Linked DNA regions of Homo sapiens: region 2 is linked to region 1. The links are contacts of gene promoters, found by promoter capture Hi-C in human tissues and cell types (Jung and others, 2019). All regions are on one chromosome and are shown on one strand. The core of a region is centred on a gene start or on the middle of the fragment in contact, and the rest is flanking DNA. Distances in the headings are between cores, read along the strand shown. Region 1 holds the start of UQCRB (ubiquinol-cytochrome c reductase binding protein). Region 2 overlaps RAD54B (RAD54 homolog B).

Region 1 (6,193 bases), core at 2,588-5,087:
TGTAAATTTGGGTACATATACTGTGGTAGAACTTTCATCAAGTTCCTAGTGACTTAATTCTTGTTTGACTTTTTCCTTCCTTCTTAGGAAATACAGCAAGCTCAGAGAAGGGGAAAGAGTTGGTTTACTTTAAGTTGGTGCTTTGTCATTCTCGTGAAGATGAAAACAGTGGAGGATTTTTAAAGTGGTTTCATTATAAAATGGCTTTATTTCCTTTGAACTGTTACGAGTTTCCAGAGCATACTACATTAGTCATCTAATATCTACTGCTCAGATAATGCTACAAAACACACTTCATTTTGGATTATCTACATTGTTAACTTCTTGAACACAGATATTCACAGTTGGCTAAGAATAAGGAAAAGGAAAGTGGAGTTTAAAGATTAGGGGCAATGAGATATAGTGAAAGGCTTAACTAGCCTTTGACTTATTACCAGTAAACAAATATTTGTTTTCCATTTACAACATGTGTTATCCTGGGCAAGTGATTTCATTTCTGAGCCTTTGCTTTTTTATTTGTAAAACGAAGCATCATGACTTCAGTTGTCTGCCTTATGATCACCAGATTGGGTAGACTGTTAACACTGGGGGCCCCCATGAACCATACCTGGTATTTGCACTCTTGTGTAGTTAGTCCTCTCCCACACTGACTCTGGGCCGATGTGATTTGGCCCAGAGGACATTTGTCAAGCAGAGGCTTAAGGATTTGCACATCAGGGCTTGCCCTCTTGGAACATTTGCTCTTGGCACCCTAAGCTACTGTGTAGAGAGGTCTGGTTACTCTGCTGGAGAAACTAGGTGGACAGAAAGATGTCTGGCCAAACCCAGCTTTTTCAGACATGCCAACTGAGCACCAGACATGCATGAAGAAATTATCTGGGATGTCCCAGACTTAGTAGATACTACACTAAGCAGAACGACCCAGCGGAATTCAGAATTGGGAGAAAGTGTTTTAAGCCGCTAACTTTGGGGGTAGTTTGTTGTGCACAGGGTTCTGTGGTGTGCTGGATGCCCTTTAAAAAACCTCATGAAAAACTAAATTTGTAATTGGTCAGGGCCAGGTATAGTGGCCTTCCTGTTACATATTTTATTCATGCAACCGACATTTGAGTTCTATAATACAGTGGTGAGTGTGGCATAGATATGTGCTTTCATGGAGTTCTCCAATGGATGAGATCAATAAACAGGAAACAATAAAAAATAAGCTGGGGACACCATGGAACCATCCTGTCCTCTCTTTCTGTGGCTCACAACCTCATTTTGCCTTTATGAATAACCCAGTGAACAACCTTAGCAGTCAGAATAGGCAAGTTGTGTTGATACAATGAACAATCCTAAAACCTCAAATGATTGAAAAACCACAAAAGTTTTTATCTTATACATGTTTCTTAGGACCACAAAGGCTCTGCTCCACATCATCTTCAGTGATACAGGTTGATGTATCCTGTCTCCATCATTTCTGGAGTGTTGCCAGTCTATGGAAAAGGAAAGGAATGTGAAGAATTGCTCTTAAAAAGTTATCACATTTTTCTTGGCCAAAGTATCACATGGCCATGCCTAACTTTAATAGGGCAGAGAGGCAATCCCTAATCCTGTGCTGGGAGGAAAGAAAACCAAAAATAGTTTTTGAATCAACAATCACTACCAGCAAACATTCAGTCTCTCTAGCTTAATTCCTTAGGAGCTGGATTTTGTGACAATTTTGGGTTTCAGATCTTTTGATATGTCTTTTCTTGCCACCTTCACCTGTAACCAGCAAGCTAAAACTTAAAGGGTGGAAGGGAGGAGAGTTTATTGAGTACCTACCCTCTGCAGGGCAATGTGCCAATGTACAAATGTACTGCATTTCTTCACATCTTTCAGACTTCACTTTGGCTAGTGTAAGATAGATCATTCATCAGCTTTAGTGCTGTATACAGGACTGACTAATGAAGAAATTGTGACAGCATGGAGATAGAAGAAAAAGGAAAATCAATATAATTTTAGAACTGGAATGTGACTAAGATCGTTAAATCTAACCTTTTGAACTTAGGATGAGACAAGGTTCTACTCTATATTGTCCCAGCTCTGAGCTTAAAACTGAGGGGAAAAAAAAGATATCACTGAGTAATGGTAGAAGTTCACCAGTAACTATCAGTCATGCTAGCTCCCCCTAATTGTTTTCTGTCTCTAGATGTTTATGCCTAAGACTTCGCATGTTGGGGTTGAGACCTTAAAAGTGAGAAAATCTATATACTTCTCTTTTGTCTTAAAATTGTGTGCAAATTCTGCAATACATCTTAGATTTAATCTTTAAAAACCTTTTCTGCTGGGCATGATGGCTCACGCGGGTAACCCAGCATTTTGGGAGGCTGACGTGGGTGGATCACTTGAGGTCAAGAGTTTGATACCAGCCTGGCCAACACGGTGAAACCCCGTCTCTACTAAAAATACAAAAATTAGCGGGCATGGTAGTGTGTACACCTGTAGTCCCAGCTACTCAGGAGGCTGAGGCACGAGTCATTTGAACCCAGGAGGCAGAGGTTGCAGTGAGCCGAGATTGTGCCATTCAGCCTGGGTGACAGAGGCTGAACAACAAAAAAAAGGGTGAAAAAAAACAAACAAAAAAAACCCAAAACCTTTTCTGACCTAACCTTCCACTAAAATAGCTAGATATAGATCTTCAGCTGGAGAAACCCAAGGCCTGAAAGGCTTGGTGTCTTTCCTGGATTAGTAGTGTAGCAGTATAGCATATGACCCTAGAATTAAGGAGCCCCAAATTTGCATCTGGATTTTCAGATTCTGGAAGAAGAACCTGGACTCTTCTAGTCATGTGCTCTTGGACAAGTTATTCAACCTTTCTGAGCCTCAGCTTTCTCCTCTCTACAATGAGATAATTACAGTACTTTTAGAATTAAAAGATAGTTTAGGGGAGTGAGAGATCACCTCCAACCCTCCCTCCCCTTTGCTCTTATGTGGGCTCTTTGGTTGAATCTAGGAACCAAATTGACACATGGCAGATTAACAAGAGAAAAGCATACTAATTTTACTAGTTTTACATGTACATGGGGATCCGCACAAAAGAGTGAAGTGGCCAATGTAAGATGCCTTTATACTTTTTACACGAACTACAAATCAGAAGAAAGGGGATCTGGCTAGGGGCAGTAAATTTCTCGCGGAGTCATTAGGAGAAAAGTGTGTGTGTTGGGGTGTAAACTTAGTGGAAGATAACGGTTACTTCGGAAAGTATATTCAGGTCCAAAGCAGCCCCCAGTTTCGTCTCTGGTGATAGGTGCTATTTTCTCCCTCTGGTAAGGGACGGGTACTCCAGAGGAATCCTGGAGGAAGCTTTATGGCTTGCTGCATGCAGGAAGAGATAGGTCATCAAACCTTTTCTGAAACTACAATTTCTCCAATATTTTCAACTCGAAATAATCAATGTACCAATTCCATATATTTTTGGGATGGCACATCCATCAGTCCTTCAATAGAAAGTAAGACGATGCCCTTAAAACATTTAGCTTCCTGCCTGGCACAAAGAGCTGAATTAATACTGTCCACGCTCCCATAGCTATTAACAGCAAATAACAGAACCCAGCTTTAAGCCTTGGTCTCCTAATTCCTGACCTGTGTTCTTCCCATCACATCACAACCAATACTTCTTAGAATGTAGCACGCAAAATGCCCCGCCTACTCCATTGGCCTCACCCTGGCCGAGAGGTGCTTACGCAGGTGCTGAACGGCAGTCGTCAGAACTGCGCCTGCGCAAGCGGCCTTTCTCTGTTCGCGATGTGACGTAACGCGCCTGCGGACTGGGCCCAGCTTGTCCTCTATGACTTACCCAGAAGGCAACGCTTCTCTTTCTGGTCAAAATGGCTGGTAAGCAGGCCGGTAAGTAACTGGGGGTCTTCTTGGCCGGCATCGTCGCGCTTCACCGTTTATTTTTGCTGCAGCTTGCTCCGTTTTCTCTCTTCTTTGTAAGTGGCCAAGTTTGTCGCGGAAGGGAAATTGGCTGCTTCAGTCCAGTGAAAAGGATGTGCTTCCCCACTCGTTTGCTGTCCCCAGGGCGGGCTTGCCTGTATAGGGTTGGGATGTTAACCCGCTGTTTGTGAAGGTGCCCGCGGTGGCTCTGACAGCCCTGGAGTTCCAGCTGCCCGTGCTTGGAAGTCCTTCCCCTTGGCCTTAGAAAAGTTAAAGGGCACAAGAGGATAACTAGTGGATGACTTTCAACCCGAATGAGCTCAGTGCTTTCTATGACCCAAGTGCTCTATCGTGTGCATTGGCCCTATAAATTTTCTTGCCATTGCGACGAGGGAGATATTAATTTCCCTTTTACGCTGATAAGATAACTGAGGCAAAGTGACCCAAGGAAGTAGAATTGGAAATATCATTGCACCCCTCGCGCTTCTCAAACTGCGAATCAGAGACAGTTGAGCAAGGGATACGAGCGACGCTTCAGGTTGACCTTGGATTATCTAGAGCGTCAGCTTGATCAGTAGGTTTGGAGAAATTTGAATTTATTGTAGGTTCTTTTTTTCTTTTTTCTTTCTTTTTTTTTTTTTTTGCTAATCTCTGCCCTCTGGCGGTACAAGTTGGAGTAGCCGTTTTGTTTGTTTGTTTGTTTTGTCTTTGAGACGGAGTCTTGCTTTGTCGCCCAGGCTGGAGTGCAATGGCACAATCTCGTCTCACTGCAATGCAACCAAGTTGGAGTAGCTTAAAAAATGTTGATCCTTTTCTCCCCGCCCCCAGCAATTGTGAAGCTGTTAGGAAACATCAGGTTGCCAGAAACATCCGTTAACCTAATTGACATTGAGCTTTTTGGGGGTGGGGGAGACTTTTTAAATAATTATTTTATTAATTTGGCAGATATTGAAGGAGTCTTACTAAATTCAAGACACTGCTTCTGTGCGTGTTTGGGAACTACATAGACCAGATCTCAACTCCCATTAGCTAACTCTGACCTTGGGTGGGATCACTTCTGTAAGCCAGCTTCCCCTTCTGTAGTAACAGACATGTAAATAAATCAGCTAATGTTGGTAAAGCAAATAGGAAAGTGTTTGGTGCACAATAAGTGCTTAGTGAATATTATTATAGTCACTGATAGGTGGTTGAATATAATCTGTCTTCCACAAGTATGTTTGTAGATTGTTGACTGATACTTGTTTTTCTAGCAGCAGTTTTATACATGACTCTTAATTTCCAAGGAGATTTGCTAAAGCCACGTAATCTGTAGTGCACTGAGTTTGCAAGCAAGGAGAGTTGAGTGAAAGGAGAGTTTGCTTTCCTTCCTTGGTAAGGGCTAACCCTAGACAAAATTTTAAAAGAGAATACAAACCTGTTCTACCTCTCCTTTTGTAAAATGTCTCTCCTAAAATGTCAGATACGGTCCTGCTGTACTTGGACCCTGCTGGGTTACTTCATCAGGCTCAGCCCTGTTCCCCAAACAGTTTTAAAATTACCTATTTCTCATCCTTTTTCAATATCCATTCCCTTGGGGGGAACTTAGTTGCTTAGGAGGAGGTAAATGGACTTCTTTTACGAATCCATATTAATGTTTAAATGACTAATGGTATCAAAATCCTCCCCAAAATACATACATTTTTAAAGAATGTGGCCAAATGAAATAACTGTAATATCGAGTAAAAATTTTAGAGGATGAGGGTCATTTAGACCTGCCAGTCTATGCTGAAATCTCACTGTCTTTTCCCTACAACTCCAGCTCTCTTGAAATGAAAAGTTTACAATTATTTCCTGTGATCTATTTATGAAACTACAAATGATGGAAATTTCCAAGTCCTTTTCCTATCTCCCACCCCTTCATTTCTGAAGGTAACAGGGCAGGCATAAGGGCACACGATGTACCTATGGATCTTTTGTACATTCAGTGTTTGAGTTTACCCTTTTCTTTCATGACTTGCCACCATTTTCCTGCAACCACTTTTGCTCATAAATAAAATAAGCACTTTTTATCAACATTTTATAGAGTATAAACTTTTTTCTTTTAAATCTAATTCTTTTGATTAAATTCTTGCTGTATATACTATATACTTTTAAAAGGAAATTTATTTCTATGTTTGCATTCATCAGCAAGATAACTGAGTACTGGTTGCTTGCCTATCAATGTGTTCATATAGTATAATTAAATTGTAGCAATTAACAGTGTGACAATTATCAGTTTCAGCATCAGGCAAGTGGCTGGATGGTATTCGAAAAT
Region 2 (6,193 bases), core at 951-3,450, 1.8 Mb after region 1:
GTTGTTGTTGTTTTTATTCCTTAATAGTCTAGTTTCACTTTGATCTTGGGTCGTATAGGAAAGAGTAAGCTTTCTCTTACTGCTTTGCAAGGATATCAAATTATGAATTTTAAAATACCCCTAAGAGCAACTGGGTTTTTTTAGAGTTAGAAGCAATTTTTTGGTTAAACTTGTCTTCTATGTAACTATTTGCCTTGGAATTTTCAAAAGTATTATCTTGCCACTAATTCAGATTGTAACCTCTGGCAAAATATAAAAATGGCAGCTACATTCTTATTCTGAACCATTTAGGGTAATTTAAACAAATTGTAAACTCCTTGTTAGTTTGAGGAGCCTTTCAAACAAAGCTTTACACAATGTGCTTTTCTATTGGTGGAAGAGGCATTATATAAGCAAATTATTGATTACTATGAAATCCCTTTGAAATTAGGAGAGAAGCAGAAAAAAACCACTTTGTAGCCAAGTGCATATGTTATTTTGGTAATTTACTAGGAAAGTATTTTTGAGCCTAGCTTCTTACCAGATACTGCTTATTTCTACTTGATAGCACAGTAAAAAAAATATCACCAGTGGGAATCCAGGACATGAATACACAGTGGATTAATTCTTGGGGCCACTGGTTAAAATGTTCACTGTGATGACAAATGATGAAATCCCAATAGCTAGATATCCAGAAAACTACGCAGTAAAATTGTTTTATACTGTGCTACTTATGCAGAATTTTCTCTCCCTTGAACCATGGAGAAAAGTGTTTTTTGCATCGCAGGTATAAAACTGTACCCTTTGGTTAGTAGGTATAGGTTTTTATAATTTGAAAACGACATGTAGAAACTGTAATTTTAGTTAGTTGCATATTTTAAAAATAACAGTGAGTAGAAGAAAAATAATATATAAATATACAAGTATCTGGTTACATTTTGACTATTTGTGTGTGTGAATATTTACAATATTCACACACAAAAAATCTTTTGGGATATGAACATTTCTCTGATAAAAATGAGTTGATTTGTACATTTCTATACCTATGGCTTAAATAATACCAATTTGTTAGGTTTTAAAGGGAAGAATATAAGAAACATGCCTTTTAAATTCTTATGTTACTGTGTCTACATTGACATTTTCTCTGTATTAGCTTATTTCTTTAATATATATATTTAATGTGCTTATATTTATTTGATTGATATCATCCTTGAATCTTAATAATCTCAGAAGTTTATAATTATTCTATAATCTTAACTATACTTCTACATAAATATGCCTGTTAATCTTACCAAACTCTTCCTTTTTAATAAGGAAAATACTAGTGTTTGCGTTAACATACTTAAAAATATATACCTGTTTTGTAAGGCTATTTATTTTCTGTAACTCACATTGACTTATGTCTTTATTTTTACCTCTTCCTAATATCAGTTTATATTTTGTGTTTTTGTAAACTGATCTTCAAAGTTCTGATTCTCAAGTCCTTCTCTGTCATTTTTGTGACCTGCTCTAAAGCTTTTTTTCTCCCTTTTTATATTGTTATGCCTTAGTTGTAATGTTTTAGCTAAAATGGAAAGGAATGTTCCAGATATGAGGCATATTTTTAATTTACTTGGTAGTATTATGTCTATGTTTATACTCTCTATTTTACATACTAATTTGAAATAGTAATTATGTGGTTTTAAAAACTTAATTTTCATATGCAATTTTAGCCTTTTCCCATTCCAGGTTTTAGCAGAGCTATTAATAGAAGCAGAGCTTGCTACTTTGAATTACATTTATAATTAATTGTTTTGTTTTTGGAAATAATAAAATGACACAAACAGAGACAAGAACAAAAATGAATTTATATAACCTACAAATAGATTTTTTATTATATACTATATATGTTTCATTTTGTCTCTTAGATAAATATCTGATATTTCTGGCAATTTAATGGCATTAGTAAGTAACGTATGGGTAGTTTTAATCTTTTTCTATGCATTCTGCTTGAACTTGTTCCAGCATTTTAATCATCCATGTAGAATGTATTCTTTTAATTATGTTTCTTATTATATGTAAAATCTTCTCTAAATAATATTAAATAAAGTATTTCCATTCATGTTCAATGATCTAATTTCCCTTTATAACTTTTATTTTTAAGTTAGGCAGAAGCATAAATTAAAAAAAACAACCTCAAGGAGCAGATATTCTTAATTCACAGCTTCACGTTATACATAAAATTATGTTTATAAAACAGAATTTTAAGGTTTATTGCATTTATAATATCATAACTTGTTATGCTGAAGCTTAAATTATGCTAAAGCTGTAGTTGTCTCCATTGGGAATGCATATTTGGTGGAAATTATGTGTAAATTTAATAAACCTTTAATATATCTGTATAGGCCATTAAAAATGTTTCATTAAAAAATCATTTAGTTTGTTTTTTTTCAGTCATTCAACACATAATGAGCACCTACTAGGTTCTAAGTACAGTACCTGCTAGGTACTGAGTATACAGTTGTGGATTAAAACCATTGCTCTTGTGAACTTTACCTGACCAGTGATTGAAAGACTTAAACAGCATCTGAGTCATATGGTTCAGAATAGGTAAAACGGAAGTTTTTCCTATCAGATAAAAGCATCTGAAATAAGAAAGTTAGGATAACCTCCAGTAGTTGAGCATATCCCAAAGCCATATACAATCTTTATGTTTTATTTTTTGGGCAAATGCAGAAATCAGTACCTCCCATAGATGGCCTTTCACTGTCCTTTTATAAGTTATGGGCCTTCATGGTTTTAAGATCAGTCCAGGAGAGCAGAAGCCTGAGGTCTAGGGCTAAGGTATGGGGATAACAAGACTGAGAATGCATTAAATGGCTCTGTACACCATTTGAAAACCTTAGGGTTGTGGGAAAGATTGGTGTCTGTTTGACAACATGAAAACTGGCTTTTCTTTTTATTTTCTTCATTGGCCTTCTATAATATTTGTAATTTCCTGCTCCTTTAAAGCACAATTTTAAAGTTAAGGATGGGGGAGATCTGTGAGTATGTATTATTGAAATCCCAATCTTAGTCACTTTAATGTATTTCAAGTGTTTAAGATTTTTTTTTATTTTGTAACTTTATAGTTTTAAAGCTTTATCATTTAATGTACATTAAATTAAAATTATGCTATAAATATACACTTTTTCTTCATTTGATTTACATATTATAATGCTTTTTTGTGTGCTATAGTGCAAACTTGGATGAGGAGGCACAGGCTGGTACCAGTTCACTACAGGTAATGTTGGATCACCATCCTGTTGCTATTACAGTGGAGGTGAAGCAAGAAGAAGACATTAAACCACCTCCTCCACTGGTTTTAAATTCTCAACAGAGTGATACTTTAGAGCAAAGAGAAGAACATGAATTAGTACATGTTATGGAAAGATCCTTGTCGCCTTCACTTTCCTCTGTTGATATGAGAATGACATCGTCTCCATCTTCTATTCCAAGGAGAGATGATTTTTTTCGGCATGAGAGTGGTGAACACTTTAGGTCACTATTAGGGTATGATCCTCAGATCCTGCAAATGTTGAAAGAGGAGCATCAGATAATTTTAGAAAATCAAAAAAATTTTGGATTGTATGTTCAGGAGAAGAGGGATGGATTGAAAAGAAGGCAGCAGCTAGAGGAAGAGCTACTAAGAGCAAAAATTGAAGTGGAGAAGCTGAAAGCAATTCGCTTACGGCATGATCTACCTGAATATAACAGTCTCTAAGTTTTTTTTTCAATCTTGCAATTTGATAATTTTGATTTTGGCCAAATTACTTTAATTTGGGAATATCCTGAAACAGAATACACGTTCTTGAAAAATGTTGTTAATCTCTATTATGGAAAAACTTTTTAGATATAATTTTCTAATTATTTTCTTTTGAGATATTAAAATTTACTGGTTGGTTGGCATGGTTATAGTTTTTATTGTCTTCTTTTTTTTTTCCCTAAGTTTAATTGTTGACCTTACAAAAGATATTTTATTCTGATCACTAAGATATACACAAATGCATATACAAACACATATTCTTTCAAAGTTCTGAGTCTTCAACATTTTTAGTTAGAACTTTGAAAGCTATAATTAGAGATTTTTAAGTCAGTCTAATTTAGGAGCTATACTAACCTAATACCAAGAAGCTTGTCTGTATGACATTGGTTTTTATGCTTTTATCTTTTGAAGGAGTAAATCCTAGGATTTTAGAGATGGAAGATATTTGGAGAACACTTTTTTTCCATCTCTGCAGTTTAGGGGTAATGAAACAGGTCCAGGGAGAACTCAATGACTTACTTAGGGTAACAAAGCTATTTATGGCAGAGCAGAGACCAGCACTTAGTTTTTCTTTGTGTAATTTCCATCCCGCTATTCGATAGAAGTAAATATCCACTAAAACATTCTCTAGATTTAAATATTAGAAGCATTTCTTTCATTAAAATTGCCTTTAAAGATTGTTAGGTTGTGAAATCAGGATAATTACATCAATTACCCCCATTCTCTCTCTATTTTTGTTCCAGCAAAATAGATAAGGTATTCCATTGAAGCTATTATATATTTTGGCTGTGTGATTTAAAGACATGTCTTAATTCATTTTGAATGTCCTGTTCTGGAAAAAATTTCTTTCACAGTAAAAATCAGAATGAACAAAATTAAAATTTTATGTATTTTATAAGTATTGTTATTTTAGTATTCATGGAAATAAAACCTCAATTCTTAAAGCATACATATTAAATTTATATTAAATCTCTAATATGTATGTTACTTAAGAATTTCTATTTTTGCTGGGGTTTTGTTGAGAAGGGATTTTTAAGCCAAGTTGTAGAATGGGGTGGGTGTAATTTCAGCAGTGAAGGGGACCATGGGTGTTTGAAGTCAAGAGTGAGACGCTGGAAAAAAGACAAAAGAATGGGAAAAAGTGGATTGAGTATATAAGCACAAATGCAGTGCTAAGCCATTGATTTTAAGTGAATGTAGAGAGAGTCAATTTGGGCTGTAGTATCCTGGACTAGGAAGGACATCTCCCTGGACTAGGTAGGGTAGCTGCTGTTTAGCTCCAGCAGAATTTTCACATGCGGGGATAAACCAGAAATCTGCATTTTTTAATGAGGAATCTTCCAATTTTAAAATGTTTGCAAATAACACAAAATGCTTTTAAAACATTATACAGACAACATGTGAGTGGGCCTCACTGAGCCATTGGGCTTCCACTTTGTGGCCTTTGGAGTAGACCAATGGTTTTCCAAGTATGGGTCCTGACCAGCAGCATCAGCATCACTTGAGAACTTGTTAGAAATGTAAATCCATTTCCAAGTGAATTAGAAACCCTGGGGGTGTCAGCAATCTCTTTTAATAAACCCTTTAGCGATTCTGATGCATGCTAAAGTTTGAGAACCAGTGAAACAGAGTATTTTGGAACCTCGCTTGGTGCCTAAATCATACTAGTCTCAAAATTTTTGTCGAAGAGTAGTTGAAAGTGAACTGAGGGATATAAATTTGGATGATGGTTGATACCAGATTATGAATTACATTAAATACTTTTTTTTTTTTTTTTTGAGATGGAGTCTTGCTTTGTCACCTAGGTTGGAGTGCAGTGGTGCGATGTTGGCTCACTGCAATCTCCGTTTCCTGGGTTCAAGCGATTCTCCTGCTTCAGCTTCCCAAGTAGCTGGGACTACAGGCGCACCACCATGCCTGGCTAATTTTTTGTGTTTTTAGTAGAGACGGGGTTTCACTGTGTTAGCCAGGATGGTCTTGATCTCCTGACCTCGTGATCTGCCCGCCTCGGCCTCCCAAAGTGCTGGGATTACAGGCTTGAGCCACCGTGCCCAGCCTAAATACTATTTTTAATGAGTCAGACTTAACGTACAATGAGAAGCCATTGAATGCTTTGAATTAGAGGGCTAATTTGATTATAGTTGTGATTTAGGAGGAGTGGCATTTAGGGACAGGCATTGTATTGGAAGAACTTAAATCAGAAATTTAAGTTATGGCTATAGAAATAGAAAAAAATGAACTCAAGGTACTATTTTAGCATGTTGACTACTTAATTTCATTGGTTGGATTAAAAAGAGGGTGTTTTATAGCTGGTAGAGTTAACTTCTTTAATTATAAAGATGTCCTGAATATATAACTTGATATATCCTTTTGACAATGTTACCTTTTCTCTTTAATCTGTGCTATGACTTTTCTTTGAGTCTAATGAAT

The links. The method cuts DNA at HindIII sites, captures the fragments that hold promoters and counts their contacts. A contact is called where the count stands out against the background at its distance.
Region 2: a contact is called between a fragment that was not itself captured here and the fragment with the promoter of UQCRB in region 1, in 1 of the 25 tissues and cell types used here (hippocampus).

The regions. Positions count from the first base shown.
Region 1 is chr8:96,233,189-96,239,381 of GRCh38, reverse strand. It overlaps UQCRB (ubiquinol-cytochrome c reductase binding protein), which reads left to right and starts at 3,837. Exons shown (of 4, transcript NM_006294.5): 1 at 3,837-3,870; 2 at 6,155-6,193. The coding sequence starts at 3,852. It overlaps UQCRB-AS1 (UQCRB antisense RNA 1), which reads right to left and starts at 4,089. Exons shown (of 2, transcript NR_183275.1): 1 at 3,821-4,089; 2 at 186-1,475. RefSeq lists an enhancer at 3,831-4,110. The HindIII fragment of the contact is 10,908 bases long and covers 262-6,193 here.
Region 2 is chr8:94,429,659-94,435,851 of GRCh38, reverse strand. The region is part of intron 3 of RAD54B (RAD54 homolog B); the gene reads left to right. FSBP (fibrinogen silencer binding protein) reads left to right here. Exons shown (of 2, transcript NM_001256141.2): 2 at 3,196-6,193. The coding sequence ends at 3,721. Among named protein-coding and RNA genes, the nearest start is that of FSBP, 4.2 kb to the left of the region's middle. RefSeq lists an enhancer at 552-1,052. The HindIII fragment of the contact is 5,994 bases long and covers 1-5,197 here.